Linked DNA regions of Homo sapiens: all the other regions are linked to region 1. The links are contacts of gene promoters, found by promoter capture Hi-C in human tissues and cell types (Jung and others, 2019). All regions are on one chromosome and are shown on one strand. Each heading gives the region's core, a stretch centred on a gene start or on the middle of the fragment in contact. The rest is flanking DNA. Distances are from core to core; before and after follow the strand shown. Region 1 holds the start of SST (somatostatin). Region 2 has its middle 100 kb from the start of SST. Region 3 has its middle 78 kb from the start of SST.

Region 1 (2,673 bases), core at 83-2,582:
AAGCTAACAGGATGTGAAAGTCTTCCAGAAGAAATTCTTGCAGCCAGCTTTGCGTTCTCGGGGTGCCATAGCCGGGTTTGAGTTAGCAGATCTCTGCAGCTCAAGCCTCATTTCATCCTGCTCAGCAGCCTGGGACAGATCTTCAGGTTCCAGGGCATCATTCTCCGTCTGGTTGGGTTCAGACAGCAGCTCTGCCAAGAAGTACTTGGCCAGTTCCTGTATAGGGCAGAAGGGATAGAAAAAGAGAGAAAGAGAAGTGGGGAGGACAATGGAAAAAATTTGAAAAGCCTAAATTAAAGAACAGATTTGGTCACACACAAAATCCAGTTTTTACAGCTGCGCATTTTTTGTCACATTTAAAATCAATCAAGGATATAAAAATAAGGATAGTTGCTATAATTACCAAGTTACACAAAAAGGCTTTAAGAGCTCAAATGTTTCTGCAACCTTTCTGTCCCTGTAGACTTAACACACACACACACACACACACACGCACAAACACACACACACACACACACACACACATAAAGACCGTTCTGGTAAGATAAAGTGTGTGCCAACAGTTTAATTCAATTTTCACATCACGAGCTACAAAGTAGAATTGTTTTACCATTTTTACCAAGTAAACTGTAGGGGAACGAGACTTCTCACAATCTCAAACATACGGCGTTCGGTCTTTAGATTGCCCCTTTGCCCTAGTCCCGACGTTTGGAAGTGAGGTACGCTAAGAGGTAGCAGCTTCAGAGGTCTGCGTTTCAGCACCTGGGTCAGCGCTTCCCAGGGTCAGCACCAGGGATAGACGCCATTGTCGCTTCGTGCCCAGACAACTACCCAGATTTTGTAATTTTCTTGAATGCCAAGTAAGAACTCACCTGAACTGTGACCGACTGCGCTTATCATGGGGGAAAAAAAGAGTTAGAAGGGGATTCTAGCCTTTGATAGTTTTCTCAAGAGCTTCGGGAGCTGAGGGACCCAGAAAAGCACCAAAACTCTTTAGAAGGACTGAGCATCCCTTACGTCCAAACCAATGGGGCAGGAGCAAGGCTTAGGGAGGGCTGGAGAATCCGGGAGACGTCGAGGGAGTCTCCTTACCTGCTTCCCCGCGGCAGCAGCCAGGGACTTCTGCAGAAACTGACGGAGTCTGGGGTCCGAGGGAGCGCCGGTGACACAGCCCAGGGCCAGGACGATGGACAGCGCAGCCAGCGCGCACTGGAGGCGGCAGGACAGCATCTCGGCGCCGCGAAAGCCGAGCTGGAGAGTGGCTGGTCAAACTCTAGGCGCGGATCAGCAGGCAGCAGCGATGGCTCCGAACCTCGCTCCTAAAGCGGCTTGTGTGCTCTCAACCGTCTCCCTCTGTTTTAAACTCTCTCTCTGACGTCAGGCTAGGAGGCGCCCCCAGATCTCACCAGCCCTTTTACGCACCATTAGCCTCGCAAAATCAATCACAGAAGACAGGGGAGGTGACAAGATCTAAAGTGGCTTACTTAAAAAAAAAAAAATACTGCACACGCACAGGCACACACAATTCCACATGCCCCACGATTTATACAATCTTTTATTTTCACTCAGTGCTATGAGCATACACATTCCACAATTTCACTCCCACACATGCACACTCAATTACACACAAACAGAGGCTCAAACACTCAGCTCTTAAAGAGCAAATACACTATCACCCTTAAATGCACACAAATGTACCCAGACAACTCCATCTGTCATCATACTCTAACATTTTAGGAAGGCCCAACAAGCAACAGGGCATGTGTATGGTAGGTGGAGATCAGAATCATTCCTCTAATAACAGATTTGAGAATGAAATATGGACAGTAGAAGGACTGAGCCCTCTTTATTTCCTCCATTATCTCATAAAAAGCCTTGAAGATGTAACGGGGCTCTAAAAGAACTTCACTTTTCTCTACAATGGGGGAGAAGGTACCTCTGGCTCACCCTCCCTCCCTCTTTCTCAGCAACTGAGACTTCTGATCTACCTGCCTTTCTATTGTGACCATATATATGTATGAGTGTGTGTATATGTACGGGAGGGAAAGAGAGAGAGAGAGATTGAAATGGACTTCATTTTGGTGCTGAGAAATTTAGAGCTGGAAGGCAATCTAAGAAATTATTCAATAAACCTCAGAATTTGAATCAGTAAGGCAGAGTAATGGTCAGTAAATTGTTCTCCTTCACATACTGCACACTTTGAGCAAAACCAGACCTCCACATTCCAAAGCCAGTGTTCCTTCTACTGAGCTCTGAGTTTTCTAACAGATTCCTGGCCGGTAAGCATAGTTTTATGTCAGGAAGCCCCAGTTTAGACATATAAGGTCTAGGAACTCCCAGAACATATGTGACCACTATTGTATATCTATATGTGGAAAGGATCAAAAGATTCTTGGTTAAATTCAGCTCTGCCTGATCTCCTAGAAACAAAGAAAGTTTAAGAAAACCTGTCCTTGAATTCTGATTGAACTCTGGTTAAATGTTTACTGTTCAGGCCAGAGTTCTGACTGCTTTTATCTAAATAGTTCCTTACTGAGGAAGGACCAGCTAATTTCCTAGCATGGACGAGATGATCCCTACAGGATCTTTAAGAGCTGTTATCTTATGAGCTTCAAAAAAGCCAATATTAGCTAAAAAGATATGCTGCATCTCTGGAAACCATGCGAAGCTCAT
Region 2 (2,673 bases), core at 129-2,628, 100 kb before region 1:
TATTCCTTGAAATAAATAATTTATATTTATCATTTATTTATAATCATATATGTATGAGTTATTTCAAGGAACTAGCTGATGTAATTGTGAGGACTGGCAAGTTTAAAATTTGTAAGGCAGGCTAGCAGGGTGGAAATTCAGGCAGGACTGGCTGCTGCAGTCTTGAGGGAGAATTTCTTCTTCTGTGGGAAAATTCGGTTTTTTGCTCCTAAAACCTTTCAACTGATTAGATAAGATCCATCCAGTTGGAGAGTATAATCTCTTCTACTTAGAGTCAACTAATGGTATATGTTATCTATGTCTACACAATACCTTCACAGCAACAACTTAAGTTTGTATTTGATTAAATAACTGAGTACAACAACCTAGCCAAGTTGGTGCATAAAACAACCACACCATTCTTTACCTCATTTGAACTTCCCAATTTCTTTTAGCTAAGCAGAGAAGTTAGCATTATCTACATTCCACAGATTCCAATGCTGAGGCTCTTCTGAGTGGTGATTTGTTCACTTGTACACAGCTAGTAAATGTTATTTCTGGATGTAATAATTAAACCACAGGTTTTGACGGTCTTAAATTCTTAAAGTTAGATCATACCACCTTTCTCACATAAAAGTCATTCATTTATGCATTCAGTAATCATGTTGTAGCCCAATCATGCGCTAGGTACTGATTGAGCAAGAGAGACCTGGGGTTCTGACATTTTGGAGCTGACTCTCTGGTGAGGGAGCCCAACACACTGACATTATACACACACATGTGCACACACACACACACAGCTGCTCACAGCATTTGAAAAGCTTCTTTAAAATGATTGGCAAAGTCTGGGAGAAGTAGGATTGTCATCCATAACAGAGAAGCATGGGACTGAGAAGGCAGCTCAGAATATGCAGCAATTGTTTTTCAAAGAGAGATGAGACAAGCTAAATAAACTCAGTTTCAGCGTGTTAAAGAAGAGTCTGAGATCCATGCCTGTGGTGGAGAGGGTGGTGAATCAGGAGTCAAAAAAGCATATGTTGAATTTTTTCCTTTGGCATGAGCGACTGGTGGGAGCTGGGTTGGAGCCAACATGGGGCAGGCCAAGGCTTCAGCCGGAAGTGGACTGGTGGCACAGGGCGGCCAACCAGGCAGGCCACCCTTGGCTTCTGCTCCTGGGCTCTATGTGCTAAATCTCAGGAGGAAGAATGAATCAAGGATTACCCCTTTGGCTGATGGAGACATTTTGTTCACTTCACAAAATCAGTAAAGTATTTTATGTGGTTTCCAGCAAATGCAAAATACATACAGGCATACATTGTTTTGTTGACTTTGCTTTATTGCACTTGACAAATACTGAGTTTTTTACAAATTGAAGGATTGTGGCAACCTTGCATTCACCAAGTAAGTCCACTGGTGCCAGTTTTCCAACAGCATGTGCTTCCTTCATGTCTCTGTGTCACATTTTGGTAATTCTTGCAATACTTCAAACTTTTTCATTATTATCATATCTGTTATGGTGATCTGTGATCAGTGATCCTTGAAGTTAATATTACAACTGTTTGGAGTATCACAAACCACACCATATAAGATGGCAAACTTAATAGATAAATGTGCGTGTTTTGACTGCTCTATGAATTGGCCATTCCCATGTCTCTCTCCCTCTCCTTGGATTTCCCTGTAACTTGAGACAATTAGATCAATTAACAACCCTACAATGGCCTCCAGGTGTTCAAGTGAAAGGAAGAGTCACACATCTCTCACTTTAAATCAAAAGTTAGAAATGACTAAGCTTAGTGAAGAAAGCATGTCAAAAGCCAAGATAAGCTGAAAGCTAAGCCTCTTGTGTCAAATTGGCCTCTAGCCAAATTCTGAATACAAATAAAAAGCTATTGAAGGGGCCAGGGGTGGTGGCTCACGCCTGTAATCCCAGCACTTTGGGAGGCTGGGGTGGGCGGATCACGAGGTCAGGAGATCGAGACCGTCCTGGCTAACATGGTGAAACCCCGTCTCCGCTAAAAAAAAATACAAAAAAATTAGCCGGGTGTGGTGGCGGATGCCTGTAGTCCCGGTTACTCAGGAGGCTGAGGCAGGAGAATGGCGTGAACCCGGGGGGCAGAGGTTGCAGTGAGCCGAGATCCCACCACTGCACTCCAGCCTGCATGACAGAGCGTGAAGATGTGACTGAATTGTTGCAATTCATAGGTCACATGCTGAGCTATTGGGAGTAGATATTTGACACAGGAATTTTGGAGGAGACACAATTCAACCCATAACAATCAATGTCTCTTAAATCCATTTTACCCTGGGAGGTAGGCAAAGCTAAGATTGTTATTCTCATTTATAAGATGGGTAAAATCATCAAGGCTCAGGACCACTGAGTAAGTGACAGATCTGTCCCTGACCTCACTCCATCCCACACTTAATACTGCAAGTTGTACCTTCAGGCTACATTAGGACACACGGAACCCCACTGATGTCCACGGTGTAGGTTCAGTAAGGGTCAAGCCACAGCCTATGGGCTTGTCAAGAAACTGCTGGCTGAGAGAAAATGACTGAATTAATAAAAGCACCTGACTGTGAAGCACTCCTGGAAGGGATTTTAACCTGAAAAGGAATAAGGAATATTGCCAGGTCTGTATCCCATCAGTCTCCAAATACTAGGAAATGGTGCCAGATAGGGGTTGTGAAAAGTTA
Region 3 (2,673 bases), core at 115-2,614, 78 kb before region 1:
TTTGATTTCATCTTCTTCTATTGGGATTTTATTTCAGAAATGATTTTTTTTTTTTTTTAATTCCAAGGCCTCCTTCTGGTTTTTATGCTTCCTATTCTTGTTTCAGCTCTTATCTCTCCGGGGATGTTAATTGTAAGTTATTATATTTTAATTTTCTTCTGCCCTGCATTGTCTCTGTGTCCTCTGAATTCATTATTATTATTGTTTGTTTGTTGTAATCATCTCTTTTACACTCATGTTTGAAGGCTTTTCAGATGCCTGGTATCCTTGGCAACCCATTCATACGTTCATACTTCTTTGTGACTGTGGATGGGACATGCCGACTCTCTATCTTTTCTGTGGAGTTCTCAGGCATCTGGTTAGCTTTTGTTTGGCACTTTATATAAAATCTACAAGTCTTTTTAAATGAATTCCTTTGGTTTCCCCATAGAAAAACACATTCTGCCCTGTGGCCAGAGCTCCAGCTACCAAGGCCCAGGGGGAGGGGCAGGGGGCGGGTGGGATGCGGTTAGAAAGTGAAATGAGACTTCCTTGGTTCAGTATGCAAATCTTTCCCTTCCCCTTCCCCGTGTTTTAGGCCATATATTAGACATCAGCCTTGCACTATGTGTGGTGCCCCAACTCAGGAATGAAATGATTCTGTTTTCCAAGAGAGCAAGCCTCAGGTCTCCAGTGTTGTGAGGCACGGCTAACTCCCTAGTAGTCTGTAGTAAGAAAGGGAACCGGAGTGCTCACGATTCTTTTTCAGGCTTCCAGCTAATCTCCCTGCTTTTGCTCCCAGCACCCTCTCCCTGCTCTTTCTGCCACAGCTGAGATTCGTAAGGGTTCTGTGGGTCACATCAGCTCACTTCTCATAGCACCCCACTTTTGGGGTCCTTGTGTTGGCATGGTCTTTACCCCACTTTCAGACTTTTCAAAATATGTTGGCATCTCTTGCTGTGGATGCCTCTCCTGTGCTCCTTTGTCCTTGGGACAAGGGCATGTCTGTAATCAATTCAAAATTGTTTTTAATAGAGATAGGATCTCACTATGTTGCCAGGCTGGTCTTGAACTATTGGGCTCACGTGATCCTCCTGCCTTGGCCTTCCAAAGTGCTAGGAGGAAATATTTTTCAATATTTTCCAGTATTTTTAAGGGAAATCCAGACTAGTTTTAAGGCAACATTTAAAACTCTCATGCTTTCCAGGGCCCTGCTTTGAAAACTTTTGAAGATATCCAGATTCCTTAGTTGAGGCTATTTCCACAGTGCTCCTGAGTCTCTGTGGAATCAAATGACTCAAGCAGCTTCAAGAATCCCTTGTATAACATGACCTTTAGAAAAGTAGAGAAAATGAAAAGCTTCTCTTGGAATGCAAATCATCAATTGTTTGAAAAATCCAAAGTTTGCAACATCATCTCAGGGTGGCTGCAAACATCAAACTGATAAAAGAGCCTCTAGAGCTCCTTTTCTGACATAGGGAATTCTGTGTTTGTTTTTCTTATTGTCTTGAGGAGTTGCAGGAGAGCTTTTCTGTTTTCTCTTTTCTCTTTTAGTATTTTAAAATTGAATCAGACTTGAAGTGACTCCTCCTTGAGCATGTGCTAAAGCAGCTGTGATGACCGGAAGTCATGGCCAGAAAATCTTCCACAGGAAACAACACACTCACACACACACCTTTAATTATTCAAACTCCCAAAGGTTCTGAAGTTAAACAAGTTCTTCCTCGGGAGAGCAGACTTGACCCTCTTTTCCCTACTCTCTTCCCCAACCTCAACTCCTGCACAAGAACTTCAAGGACGCAGCCATAAATTAGGTTGACATCTAGAAGCCCCCTCCATCTAAAACTGATGGAGAACCACAAAAACTGGGAAGGTTTCCTCCTCTGGGGCTGTGAATTTCTGCTTCTCTCATTAATAAGATAATTTTACTTCCTTGGGCAAAATGGAGCATAGCTGTCTCTTATTCATGACAGAGAAATCATAATATTATTTTAGTTTATCTTCAGCACCCCTCCAATTCTCATTGAGTTATTCTGGGCGCAAACCAGGTTATTTTTGGCATTTCCAATGTACTAAGCTTCATGAAGAAAAGAGGCAGAAAAGCAGAGTATTTAGGATCCCGGTATTAAACACACTTGGATTGAAATCCTGGCTCCCTCACTACATGCCTATGATGTTTAGTAATATCTGAATATTATTGGTTACTTAATTTATAATATTCATAATTATCTATGAAATACATAATAATATAAACTTTCAATAGGACAGTGAGAAGGATTAAATTTAATAAAGCATATGAGGAGCTAAACTTCTGTGGCATATAGTAAATGCTCAATCAATTTAGGTTGTCATGATTGTAATCAGGAAGATAAAATAACGTGTGTGTGTGTGTTTAGTTATGCTAGATAGGTGATTTTTGAGCTGCAGAGATTTTGAACTCTTAAACGAAGGAATACCATCATTCTCTGTGCTGGACAGACTTTCTGATGGCTCCAGCTTAATTTCCATCATAATGTTGTAAGACTTTCTCCTTAGTTTAGCTAAAAATTGGGTCCTTGCCACATGACCATGAAATATTAGGCTCGCAGACTCTTTGAAGGGTGAGAAAAATGGAATTTATTGGGCGAAAAGGAAAAAAACTCAGCAACACGAGATAGGTTCCTGTAAACATGCTCTCACATCAGATTGAATCCC

What was found. Contacts are between HindIII fragments. The study calls those that stand out against the background at their distance.
Region 2: a fragment that was not itself captured here is called in contact with the fragment with the promoter of SST in region 1 in 2 of the 25 tissues and cell types used here (H1 embryonic stem cells and neural progenitor cells).
Region 3: a contact is called between a fragment that was not itself captured here and the fragment with the promoter of SST in region 1, in 4 of the 25 tissues and cell types used here (liver, mesendoderm cells, stomach and 1 more).

What each region holds. Positions count from the first base shown.
Region 1 is chr3:187,669,062-187,671,734 of GRCh38, forward strand. It overlaps SST (somatostatin), which reads right to left and starts at 1,333. Exons shown (of 2, transcript NM_001048.4): 1 at 1,093-1,333; 2 at 1-216. The coding sequence starts at 1,230. The coding sequence ends at 4. The HindIII fragment of the contact is 6,645 bases long and covers 1-2,673 here.
Region 2 is chr3:187,567,365-187,570,037 of GRCh38, forward strand. No RefSeq gene overlaps it. Among named protein-coding and RNA genes, the nearest start is that of SST, 100 kb to the right of the region's middle. RefSeq lists enhancers at 79-1,062, 1,063-2,045. The HindIII fragment of the contact is 3,547 bases long and covers 1-2,673 here.
Region 3 is chr3:187,590,756-187,593,428 of GRCh38, forward strand. No RefSeq gene overlaps it. Among named protein-coding and RNA genes, the nearest start is that of SST, 78 kb to the right of the region's middle. The HindIII fragment of the contact is 3,762 bases long and covers 1-2,673 here.